3 separate regions of the Homo sapiens genome follow, and all the other regions are linked to region 1. The links are contacts of gene promoters, found by promoter capture Hi-C in human tissues and cell types (Jung and others, 2019). All regions are on one chromosome and are shown on one strand. Each heading gives the region's core, a stretch centred on a gene start or on the middle of the fragment in contact. The rest is flanking DNA. Distances are from core to core; before and after follow the strand shown.

What was found. Contacts are between HindIII fragments. The study calls those that stand out against the background at their distance.
Region 2: a contact is called between a fragment that was not itself captured here and the fragment with the promoter of ALX4 in region 1, in 2 of the 25 tissues and cell types used here (neural progenitor cells and thymus).
Region 3: a fragment that was not itself captured here is called in contact with the fragment with the promoter of ALX4 in region 1 in 1 of the 25 tissues and cell types used here (mesendoderm cells).

Annotation. Positions count from the first base shown.
Region 1 is chr11:44,307,204-44,311,592 of GRCh38, reverse strand. ALX4 (ALX homeobox 4) reads left to right here and starts at 1,454. Exons shown (of 4, transcript NM_021926.4): 1 at 1,454-1,996. The coding sequence starts at 1,531. RefSeq lists an enhancer at 548-1,476. The HindIII fragment of the contact is 16,665 bases long and covers 1-4,389 here.
Region 2 is chr11:44,347,577-44,351,974 of GRCh38, reverse strand. No RefSeq gene overlaps it. Among named protein-coding and RNA genes, the nearest start is that of ALX4, 40 kb to the right of the region's middle. The HindIII fragment of the contact is 7,828 bases long and covers 1-4,398 here.
Region 3 is chr11:44,366,629-44,370,877 of GRCh38, reverse strand. No RefSeq gene overlaps it. Among named protein-coding and RNA genes, the nearest start is that of ALX4, 59 kb to the right of the region's middle. The HindIII fragment of the contact is 4,409 bases long and covers 620-4,249 here.

The DNA.
Region 1 (4,389 bases), core at 205-2,704:
TCTGCATCTACGCTGTCCGCACGGCCTTCCAGGTCGGTGGAGGGACTAGCCTGAGCAGAGGTTCCAGGGCGCGACGGCTATTTCCCAGCTGTGTGACCTGGACCAGGTGGCCGCCCCTCTCTGAGCCTCCGTTAGCTCATCAGAAAATTGGGGGCGCCAATCTCTAGCACGGTTGTCATGAAGCGAAATCGAGGGGCTGCACGCGCAAAGTTTTTTCCCTTGCTGTGGCGGTGCCAGGGGCCTTGAGGCTCGCAGTGGTGGTGAAACCACAACCTATCAAAACCAAGCAGTTCGTTTTACAGTCGGGGGCAGTGAGGCCAGAAAGGGAAGAGACGGTCTCACCCCTCTCCCCGACCCCTGACCCCAAGGAGTGAACAGGTGACAGCGCGACTATCGGGCAAGGTCAGGGGGTCTCCAGAGTCCGCTCTCTGTACTTCGCCTGGCAGGAAATCCCCTCGCCTGGGCGCAGACGTGGGGCGTGAACGGTGCGGCCTCTAGACGGGAGCGCAGAGGGCAGCGCTCTAAAGCTTCTGAAGCCGGGCCCAGCCCAGGGCTTCTCCAGGGCTTGAGGGAGCACAGATTCCGCTACATCCCAGCCCAGCGCCCTTACAGCAGAGGGAAATAGTTAACAAGACGTGCAAGTGACCATGCACTGGACGACGAAGGCTTGTGTGTGTGTTAATCTCCCGTAGGAACGGGAATGGGGAGGAAGGTTGGAAACCTAGGAAAAGGTGCCAGCGGGAAGGCCCGCAGCGGCGCCCGCGAGCTCGCGCGCAGGAGTCCGTAGGACTCGCTTGCATCCGCAGGCCCGTGGTCCCCCTGGCTTCGAATGTCAAAACCTGTTAGGTTTATTTTGGGGGGCTTTTTTTTAACCTGTCATTAAAATTTGCATTTCCCTTTGCCCTAAGGCAAAGCTCCGACACCCCGCCAATTCTCAGCCTAGCCTCGGGAGCCCTGGGGATCCTGGCATCTCCCCAGCCCCGCCTAGAATCGGAAAAGCCCTCGGGCGCCTCCGGGTTGAATCCCCGCTAGCGAGTTAGTAGCATCTCCTTAAGAGTGGAGAGGAGGGGGCAGGGGCCAGTGGAAGGAGAGAGGAGGAGGGGACGAGAGAGGGGGAAAGGAAGAAGCAAGGCAGGGAAAAAAATTTACTTATTTTTTTTTTCCGCTGCAAAACCTTAAGAGGGTTTGGGAGATCTGGTCAACTTTCCGAAACATCTGAATCTTTTTACTGCCCTCCGTTCTTTCCCTCGGCTAGCTGTGGGGAGGGAGGAAAGAGAGAGAGGGAGAGAGAGAGGAAGGGGGGGGGAGGGAGGGGAAGAGAGAGAGAGGAGGGAGAGAGAGGAGAGAGACAGAGAAAGAAGAGGGGGAGAGAGAGAGAGGCCGGCGTGGAGGGGAGGAGGGAGAGCGAGCAGGCCGGGCAAGGAGTGCACAGCCACAGCCTCCTCGCCTCCCCAAACTCCCAGCCAAGGCGCGCGGTGGCGTCCTCGCGCCCTCGCTCGCGTCCCCGCCCGCCGCCTGCGCAAGCCAGGCATGAATGCTGAGACTTGCGTCTCTTACTGCGAGTCGCCGGCCGCTGCCATGGACGCCTACTACAGCCCGGTGTCGCAGAGTCGGGAGGGCTCGTCGCCTTTTAGGGCATTTCCCGGAGGCGACAAGTTCGGCACAACTTTCCTGTCGGCCGCCGCCAAAGCACAGGGATTCGGGGACGCCAAGAGCCGGGCCCGTTACGGCGCTGGGCAGCAGGACCTGGCGACACCCCTGGAGAGTGGAGCTGGGGCGCGGGGCTCCTTTAACAAGTTCCAGCCCCAGCCGTCGACCCCGCAGCCCCAGCCGCCGCCGCAGCCGCAGCCGCAGCAGCAGCAGCCGCAGCCCCAGCCGCCCGCGCAACCGCATCTTTACTTGCAGCGAGGCGCCTGCAAGACGCCCCCGGACGGCAGCCTCAAACTCCAGGAAGGCAGCAGCGGCCACAGCGCGGCCTTGCAGGTTCCCTGCTACGGTGAGTGCACGTGCGGGTCACCTGGTGCTGGGGACCACGGGGTGCTTGGCTTCCGCATCCCTTGAAACTGGTGGCTTGCGGGAGGTATGAGTTGGCGGGCTGGGGGCGGGGTGGTGACTCTGGTCGGTAAACGGGATCGATCGCTGCGAGGGAGCCAAGGGATCTGTTCTGTCTCCTTCTTGTCCGCCGGCCTAGGCACGGAGCGTTTCGGCTGTTAAACTCGACTTGGAGTTTGTTTTTCCCGGTCCCTTCGGCATTTCCCCAAACCGCTCGCTTTGCGCTGCCCGCTGGGCGGGATTTGAAGCGGATGCTTCTTACCGGCCCAGGGCGTGCGGCGGCAAGGAGTCTCCGCGCAGCGCTCTGGCGCTGGGCTGCGGGGCTGCGGGGCTGCGGGGCTGCGGGGCTGCGGGGCTGCGAGGCTGCGGGGCTGCGGGGCTGCGGGACAGCAGGACTGCAGAAGCCTCGCTCCTCGCCGGCTGGGAGGCTCCTCGGGCGGCGCCGCCGCAGGTGAGAGCGCCGCAGGTGCGGAGCCAGGCGGGAAGCCCGGAGCGTGGTTGGCCGAAAGCTCACGGGAAATCCAGGCGCACTGGCGCAACACAGTGCGGAGCCAGAGACCCTAGGGTCCCAGGGGACACTGTGGTCTGGCAAGACCCGAGTCCTGGGACCCTGAGCGCTACTGGCAGTGGGGATGCGGGCAGGCCAGTTCCCCTGGAGCTTCTCCCTCGGCGATTCTTGGAGGCGGCAGGCCTCTGAACAATGGTTTAGGACAGAGTAGGAAGGGAGACAGGAAGTCCCGAGTCCCAGGTGGCCCAGAGCTGTGGCAAGAGAGAAGGGTCTGGGTCCTGATTTGAGCCCACGGGGAACCCGGGGGAGCTGGCCTAAATGACCTCCAAGCTGCCTTGAACGCAGCCACAGGAGGCAGGCCTGGGCCCCCCAGAGCACAGCCACCATTGCCCGGGAGAGAGAGACACTCAAGGACGTCTCTAGCCAGAGCAGCTCAGTAGCCTAGGCCTTCTCTTCTTCCAGAGAATCGGGGTTCCTGAACCCCAAAGCGGAAGGGGAAGCAAAGACGCAGAAAGGGAAAAACCTTCTCTGGGCCAGGAGTCCTGAGCACATACCCGGAGGCCTTGGCCTTCAGGTCCGGCCCTGGTGGGAAGAGTTGGGGGCAGGGAATTTGCCCTGATCCAGGCTGATGGAGAGGCACTAGGCCTGGGGACAGAGGCTGGGACACGGCGGAGGCCTTGGTGGCTAGAATAACTTTGGGAAAACAGCCGATGGCAGATATTTTCTCGTATTCAGGTTCCTTCTTTCACAGGCGCAGAACTAGTTCATAGATGGCTGCTGACAAACATTCACAGTCATATGCTTGTCTACAATTGCACTCTACACACACACACGCAGAGAGCATCTTCTTTAGGAGCCGATGTGGTCATACCCCAAGAACACATGCCCATGTGGCCTCGAATGAGCCACATACTCCCAAACCCATAGGACAGAACTGAGAGAAGATTTAGAAAGATTCAGTGGCCCTTCCCCACTTCCTCCACCTTCCTCTTCACCTCCAGTTGGAATGAGATCAGGCATTCAGATCACAGACCCCCAAGGCTCCACACACAGACACCCACAGCTCCACATGCAGGCACACACAGTTCCACACACAGACACCCACTGCTCCACACACAGACACCCACAGCTCCACACACGGACACCCACAGCTCCACACACGGACACACACAGCTCCACACATGGACACACACAGCTCCACACACAGACACACACAGCTCCGCACATGGACACACACAGCTCTCATACAGGCACTCTTTCCGTGCTAAGCCAGCAGAGACTCTCAGCCCTGTCCGTACTGGCTGTCCTTCCCAGCCCAGGGATGCAGGCCCCAGCTCGTCCCTGTCATTCAGGACTATTAGGTGAGGGCAGGTCGCAGACTAGGGGACCCATGGAGGTTCATCCTGCATAGCCAGAGAGCTCATGCTCTCTCTCCACTGCATTGAATTTTCATATTTTAATGAAAATTACCAGTGAGACCTCTGAAGAGGCTGATACATTAGGCAAGAAGAGAGCCTAAGGAGCTCCCCACCTCTTGGTTAAATGCCTTCAGGTCCAGAGGGAAGGCGGAGAGGCCTGGCCTCCCCTGAGCCCTCTCTCTGTGTCCTGCTGGGCCCCCACAGCCAGCCTGGCCCTTCCTCTACTTGCACTAGCCTTTGGAGCTGACGGAAAGGGCCAGCCACTTGACCCGCTACTGCCCCTAACCCGTGGCAGTGTGACCTGACAGCAAACACCTTCCCAAACCCCGGTTTCCTCATCTGCATCCTGGGGTGATAACAGAAAGGCCTTACTGGGTCATAAATGTGCCTCTGCAGAGACAGCAAGAGGCA
Region 2 (4,398 bases), core at 989-3,488, 40 kb before region 1:
TTCTGTAATGTTCTACTTTTTTCAGAAGTACTTGTTTCTTTTGTAATCAGAAAACAAAGATTTATTTTTAAAACAATGAAAAATAATGTTTTTTTCTTCCCCCATGGAGATCCCTTTGGCCAGAGGTATTTGTTCCACCATCAAAATATATGAGAAATGGCCTCATTTAAGTTTTGCTCCCACAGATTTTCCTGAAACCTTTGGTGCTTTTTACTGTGTCTCCTCTAAGGAGCACCTCCAGACAATTGTATAAATGAACAAGCAGCCAAAGAATATGAACAGAAAGACTCAGAAGAGAGTTAGTCTTCCATATTGGGATTTCCCCCCTTCAGTGTAATACTCAACGTTGTGATTTTTACTGTATGCATCCAGGAAGTCATGTCTTCTGCTAGGAAAATGATTCCTGATTCACATGATGGGATTAAAGTGCCAGTGATCCCTGGAGCTTCTCTGTGAGCTCCAGGACATCCAGGTGCTCAGCCACCTGGTCACAGCTGAGAATAATGGTGCTCTGCCAAAGTCAGGCAGAGGGGGCTGGATGTCCCCTGTGTCCCAGTGTGCATGTCCCAGCCCTGTGGCTCACTCCCTCTGTGATCTTAGGCAGGTACCTCTGCTCTCTGGGCCTCAGTTTCCCCATCCATAAAATAGGGAGGAGGGATTTGGTCAGTTTCCAAATTTCATTTCGGCTGGAAGTCCTATTTCTCTTCAAACAAAATCGGAAGCAGACGTTCAATATAGAAACAGATAAAGCAGAACTTCTTTGTGTTTGAAGTGGAAATGGGGAACTGAGATGTTTTCATTTGCCACCTCTTTTGCCTGCCTGACGGCCCCACCCCCTGCAACACTTGTATGTGTGTGCACACATGTATACATACACACGCGCACATGCACATACACATGTGCACACATGCAGCAGCAGATTTGGGGACACCTCTACAGAGGCACGAGGGAGCAGAGCGCATTCTGCAACTTGCAGACTAGACCATCTCTAAACCTTCTCCCATCTCTGACATGCCATGGATTCTGATTTTGTTTATTTGGATAATATTTGTGCCTGATTCCTGTCTTGCCTCGAGTGTGTTTTAATTCACTCATTTCCTCAGCGGATATTTACTGGTCAATGAAAAGGCCTAAGTGCCGGGGATTATGCTGGGGTTACCGCAGCACCCCAGCTGAGCACGGCCTACCCTCATGGAGCTTTTACAGTCCTTAGGAGGAAATGAATTACCAAACCACCAATGGCAGAGACTGTGCATGACAGTGAGAGCAAGCACTGTAAAGACAGACTCCGAGGTCCTGGAGAGCACATAACCCCAGGGCTGGGCTGAGCCCAGGCAAGCAGGTGACATTCCAGTAGAGATCTAAGGAATAAGGAGGGGAAGGGGAAAGGAAGAACATCCAGAGAAAAGAAACAGCGTGTTCCAAGGGCCTGAGTCCGCAGCTTAGCACATCTGGGAGCAGAAAGAGGGCAAGATGGCTGGATCCCAGTGTACGAGACAATAGGGAAGCTGAAGGATGGGGGTGTTAAGGAGTCTGAAAGGGAAACCCTTGAAAGAAATGTGAGCCTGGGAATGACATACATTCAGCAGATTTATTGAGCTCCTACTGTGTACAGTCACTGTTCTGGACCCTGGGGATAAAACAGTTAAAAAAAAGGCTGGGTATAGTGGCTCATACCTATAATCCCAGCGCTTTGGGAGGCCGAGGTGGATGCATCACCTGAGGTCAGGAGTTCGAGACCAGCCTGGCCAACATGGTGAAACCCCGTCTCTACTAAAAATACAAAAATTAGCCAGGTGTGGTGGCATGCTTCTGTAGTTCCAGCTACTTGGGAGGCTGAGGCAGGAGGATCTTGAACTCGGGAGGTAGAGGCTGCAGTGAGCCAAGATCATGCCACTGCACTCCAGCCTGGGCGACAGAGCGAGACTCCATCTCAAAAAAAAAAAAGACAAAAACTTCTGCCCTCGTGGAGTTTACATTTTAATGGTAGAGGGAAAGACACAATAAACAAAATAAAAACAGATGAGTTGTCAGAGGCAGAGGCAGGCAAATCCAGGCTTTCACAGAGCCTGAAGTGATCTCATATAATGTCAGGGTAAGGAACTCTTTAAGATTAAAAAAGAATAAAAAATTGTAAATATCAGTTGAGGTGCAAAGCCTTGGAAGCTACCAGTGAGGGGTCCTGAAACTTAGGAATCATCAGCTTGCTGGAGACTCCACCTCTGGTCAGAAGGTGATCAATGAGATGAAGAAAAATCAAGCACTGGGGGCAGCCGGCCTTGGGAGAATTGGGGGAGGGGCAGCACTTGAAATGGGGTAGACAGACAAGGCTTCTTCATTGAGAAGGTGACCTCGGGGAAACCTAGAGGAGGTGAGGGAGCCACATGGATATTTGGGAGAAAAGCATTCCAGGCAGAGGTGTTGAGCTGGAAGCCTGCCTGGAGGAGGCCAGAATGGTGAGGAAGAGAGGGGAGGAGACAGTCCAAGACGTGGCCTGGGCCAGTGGGATCAGACTAGCATTCTTGCTTGCAAGGTCATCCTGACCACCATAAGGATCCCAGGCAGCAGAAGTGGAAGCCCAGAGACCAGGTACCAGCCAGGCTCATTCCAGGGAGGGATGCTGAGCCTGAAACCCTGCACAGGCCACAGAAACAGAGATAAGGCAGCTTTCCAGAGCTACTAGAGGGTGCATTCAGGGCAACTTCTCAGCACAGCTAAGGAGTGGCTGGCAGAAAACAGGAAAGAGGGAAATGGGAGAAAAAATATCAGAGCATGCAAATCTCCTGCATCATTTTATTCTCACCCAAAGGAAAACAAATTGCCAAAGGAAATAAAAATGCTTTTGGACAAGTTAAGTGGTGGTCTTCTGTGTGCAAACGTGACTCTCTCCTCAAAGGCTGTTTGTCATCCTCAAAGATGGCAGGGCCTTGGGGGAATAGCCACAAAGAGGCCATGTGTGCTCCCAGCCCGGTGAACCCGCAGGCCTGTGAAGCCTCCATGGGGATGGCAGAGGGGAAGGAAGGCAGATCCTTTTTGAAGACAGCAAAGTAACCCCGAGGCTGGTGATGCCAGGAACACTGGGGCATTGACCGACTCGGGGCCTGGATTTCTCCCTTGCCAGGGAAGGAGGAAAGCGAGGGGTGGATGGGAGGGGGCCTGTGGCTGTCATCCCGAGGCTCGTGGTTTGGGTGGCAGAACAGACCTAGGGATTGAGCGGGGCCATGGCAAGTGAAGCAGCAGAGTTTCAGGCAGGCGCCTCTGACACAGCCCCAGGCAGTTCTGCTCCCAACAGTTCACCTTTCATGGCCAGTTGCACCTTCTGAACAGTTTGTGACAGCCAGCCTGGTGCAGCAGCCAGCCATTGGTGTCTTCCAAGGCTGGGACGGGTTTCTGGCTGGGAAGTTCTTCACCCTCCCCGTTCCAGATGGGGAACACCTCCCAAGAGATTCAGTGTCACTGAGCAAGTTAGAGGCTGAGGGGTCTTGGGGACGCCAGTTGCCCTTCTTTTTAATCAGTGCACCATATTTGGAAGCAGAACAAATGGTGTTCTGGCTTTGTGTTGGAACACAAATGGCTTTGTGTTCCAACTCTGCCACTCCATGCTCTGTGAACATGGGCATGTTACGTAACCTTCTGAGCCTCAGCTTCCTCATCTGTAAAGTGGGCATTGTACTAATACTGCCACCTCCCAGGGCAGCTGTGAGGATTAAGTAAGTGCCTAGAAAAGACAAGTGCTCAGTTTATGGTCAAATAAAATAACAGTATTATTTGCAGACTAAAATTCAAGGATCCTAGGCTGACACTCAACAGGGACAATGGCACTGAGGGTTTGAAACTATAGCTGGAAATCTGAGACATATGGGCAGTCCAAAGGGCCTCGGGCTCCAACACACTGATCCAAAAATTGAAAACCCAAAGACTGTGGGAATTCTCTGTGGCTGGAGAAGTCAGGCTCCTCCAGCCCTGGGAAGACGGAAATGAATCCAGTCAGTTCAGAGGCAGAAGGCGACCAGCCTTGGCAGGCCCGGGAACAACCCTGGGAGGTGACCAAAGGTTGGTGATCATTGCAGGAAAACTGCTGTGTCCAGAGAGAAAAGCTTCTTCCAGAGCAAGGTACGGCAGTTCAGGACTGCAACTTAGACCTCCAATGGGGCAAAAGAGGCTGGACACTAAAACTGACACGAATAACCAGGGGGCCAGTCCCATGTGGCATTCAAGAAGATTTCCTTGAATGGGAACTGGGGCCAAGCGTGCGAACTTGGGAAGAATAGGATTAATGAGGCATAGACCTGTCTTTGTAGAGCTCAGGAAAACTAATATATTCTGACTTCCTCTGTGAGTTTCCACAAATGCTCTCCCCTCTAATCCTCAGAACTGCCTTAGGAAGAGGCAAGAGGA
Region 3 (4,249 bases), core at 1,575-4,074, 58 kb before region 1:
TCAGCCCCAACAAGAGACTCCCAGTGTCCTCTGCAGGCCTGTGGCATGATGGGAAGCACACTGGACCATGGCTAAGGACACTGGGCTGAAGCAGACTTTGCCTCTTAGCACTAGGGTGATACTGAACCAGTCACTTCCTAAGGTGGGCAGCTGTGGTTCATTCTGCAGGATCCATGTCTATTAGGGCATCTGCCACTCCATCCCACAGCTCCTAGGGAACAATCTCAGTGCCCTGCTTGTCCCCTGATGACAGAGGTAGGCACACAATCCATGCCTACAAATTGTGGAACCCCACCCCACCCCACCCCCATCCATAGTAAATGGACTACGAATTGGAGATGCAACCCAGGCAGGGAAGGTCAGTGTGCTTTCACGCCTTTGCTATATGGATGCTGGAAGAGATAGAGTGTCTCCTCCTTAGGATCCCAAGATGGCAGCACCACGTATGTCTTAGGCTTCCAGTGGGTGTCTTTCCCACTGTGGAGAAAGAAAGACTGCCTGAAAGAAAGCCACAGAGAAAAGCAGAGTCAGAGGTAGAGAGAGACAAAGACACAGAACCGCTGGATCTAGCCATGCCTGAAGCCATTGACACTTGGAATTCTCAATTACAGGAGCCAATATATTTTCCTTTTTGCTTAAGCCAGTTTTCATTAGGTTTCTGCCACTTGCAACCAAGAGGGAATACCTCCCTGCTCTCAGCCAAACAAGGGGTCTGGACTCTGGTATGGCCCAAGTTCTCTCCTTCCTAGCAGCTGCCACCTCCTCATCCCCTGCAGAAGAATCTCCAACGATTGACTGTCTGAGCCTTCTGAGCCTCCAATCCTCCAGGCTCCCTTCCAGCTCAGACCTCAGACTGCATAGCTCTTGTACAGAGTCCCAGCCTCCCAGATTTCTAGACTCCTTCCCATGCACCTCCTGGTCATGGCGATGATGGGGCAAGGTAAGCAGGGCAATGGCTGTGTGGGTTTCTGTCAAGCCCAGGCCTTAGAAAATCTAAACCAGGGGCAAGATATTCCTCCAACTGCTTTAAGGGACACTTTCTTTTAAATAGACTTGTGAAACCTTCGTTTTCAAAATACCAGCACGTCATTTAATTTTTTACTTCTCCAAATGTGAATATTGTCAAAAGATGGGCTTTTTAGTTCATTGTTTTAGTTCAGCTGCTTCTTTTCCCCAGCATGGAGTTATTCTGAAAGCCAAGTGTTGAGGTAGATTGGGGGATGGGGGATGAAGGCGAAGAAGAGAGGTGCTCCAGGAAGAAAGGGGGAGCAGGCCCACAGGCCCACTTGATACAGTAATCAGGGGCATAGCCACATGGAAATGCTTTCATCAGCCAGAACTCAGCTCCTGCCATGCCAGACACAGTGGTTGCCTGCCTGGCAGCCTTTTCTCCTCCTCCTTCCTGGCAGGGCCCCATTTTTTGGGGGGGAATATCTACCTCCTCTCCCCTACCAGTCAAAGGATGGTCCCATTGCCAGTTCCAAGGGTGTCTCCCTTACTAAGCCAACCACCGTAGGTCCCATTCCCCTGTCTGGGACTGGTTTAGACATGGGTCTGTGATATAATTCTGTCCAAGAAGATTAATGAGAAACCTGCTGGGGCTCTCAGGAAGAGTTTCTTCATTGATTTACAAAAGGCATGATATACAGGGAAGAGACCCCCCTCTTATTCACTGGCCAGCGTCATGTCTGCCTATGGTGCCTGGAACTGCTATGGTCACTTGGCCACCATGAGGGGGACTCATCTGCACGAGAACCTGACCCTCAGAGCATGCACAACTCACACATTCCACTGCAAGCACCACCCTACCCCAGGGCCTTTGCACCTGCAATTCCCTCTGCCAAGAACACTTTCCCTCAGCTCTCACCTGGCTCACCCCTTCACTTCATTAAGGTCTCTGCTCAAATATCAGCTCCTCAGATAGACTCCTCTGACTTCTCTCCCCTCTGCCATTCTATTCTCTTGCTTTGTTATTCATAGCTTTTAATTGACATTGTGTTATATATTTAAATTACATACACATGCATTGTGTATAATATACACATACACTGTGTCTATATAATATATCATAAACACTTATATATGAGTACATATTAAACAGACTGAGTATCCCCTATCTGAAATAGTTGAGACCAGAGGTGTTGCAGATTTCAGGGTTTTTTGTTTTTTTTTTTTTTTTTCAGATTTTGGAATATTCACATTACATAATGAGATATCTGAAGGATGGGACCCAAGTCTAAAGACAAAATTTATTTATGATTTATGTGCACCTCATGTACACAGCCTGAATGTAATTTCATTTTTGCTTTGGGGACCCAGAATAAACCGTGTTCTGCACCTGCGTTTTCACTGTGACCCATCAAGTGAGACTGTGTGTAAAATTTACCGTTTGTGGCATCATGTTGGCGCTCAAAAAGTTTCAGAATTTGAAGCATTTTGGATTTTCATATTAGGCATTCTCGCCCTATGTATCATGTATATATGCCATACATATAATATACATGATATATATACAGCGTGTGTGTATGCGTCTATTTAATCATCTTTCACACAATAATGTAAGCGCCACCAAGGCAAGGACTTGGTTTTTTTCCCCACTGTAACCCCAGAGCCTAAGAGCATGCTTGGTACAGAGAAAGGTGCCTAGCAATATCTGATGGAAGGGAGGCAGAAAGGCAGGAGGCCTGTGTACTTGAGGACAGCATGAAGCCTCTAAATTAGGCAGTCCTCAGGACTTCTTGTTTCTGGTGATAATACATATTCCTTATTAAATAAGTTTAAGCAGGTCAGTGTGGGGTTTTGGTCTCTAGCCACCGAAAACTCCCTATTTTGTGTATCTGTGCCATTCCCTGTGCCTCGGATGCCCTTCCCTGACAAGTCTCCCTGCTGTTCCCCTCTCCATCCAAGCTTGGCTGCAATTCTGCTCCCTCTCCAGGGTGCTTGAGAACGAAGGTTTTGCATCAGCAAAATCAGGGTCAAATCCCAGTTCTGCCATTCGCCAGGTGACAGGGACCTTTGGCAAGTTCCTTAGTTCCTCTGAGCTTTAGTCCCCTAGACTGTAAGATGGGAATTGCAGTGAAAGTGCCCACCTTGTGATATGCATTCAGCAAGATAATAGAAGGGTTTCAGAGACAGGAGGAGTTGGGTAACAGGCCTGGCTTTGTCACTTTCAGACAATCTGTCTGCATCCAAGCTCCTCCTCCGTCATATGGAGACAACAATTGGTGCTGACTTAAATGAATTAATGAGATGACATGTATGAATTGCTTAGTACAGTGCTGAATAAGATATTAGGTGTGTGGGCCTGATGCAGTGGCTCATGCCTGTAATCCCAACACTCTGGGAGGCTGAAGCAGGCAGATCATTTGAGCCCAGGAGTTTGGGACCAGCCTGGGCAATATAGGGTAACCCCCATCTCTACAAAAAAAATTTTTTTAATTAGCCAGGCATGGTGGCATGTGCCTCTAGTCCCAGCTACCAGAGAGCTGAGGTGGGAGGATTACCTGAGCTGGGAATATGAGGCTACAGTGACCGTGATCACGCCACTGCACTCCAGCCTAGGCAACAGAGAAACTCTGTCTCAAAAAAACAAAAAAAAAAAAGATATTAGGTGTGTGTAGGTATACCCATAAACATTCCCTTTCAAGGATGCAGGGGCCTCAAGACCCAGCCTCTGTACTGAAGAGGCCACAGGGGATGGGGCTAAAGAGACAGGAAAGACCCAGTTTCTGTGGGGCAGGCAAAGGTGTCTGGGTATGCTTGAACAGGTTGACTTCTGACTCTCCCCAGGCAGGGTCAGCCTCTTCCACCCTGGAAGCAGTTTGCACTGGGCCAGTGTCTTACCTAGGTGGGAGGCCCACAAGCCCCCGTGGCACTGACCTTGTGAATTTCAGTCCCAGGTCAGTCCCCTCCACTGCTCACCGGAAGCAGCAGAGGCCACTCGCTCATCTCTCCGCTAGGCTGTTTTTAAACTGAAGCCATTAGGCTTGCTAATCGCCTGTAATCACCTTGTTTGAATTAGCATGGCAAGTGCTTCCGACTAAACGGTCTGTTATTCCAAATAACCCTCATTGGTTTTAATTATGTACCCTGGAATGCACGGCCTCCCAGCCCTCTGCTTTATTAGGGAGGGGTCCTGTAAACCACAGGATGGGGCGTGGTTCCTGACCTCCCCTCTACAGGCCCCATAATAAGGAGAAGCAGGAGAAGGTCTTTTGCCCGTCCAGACCCTCCCTTAGGTCTATTTTTA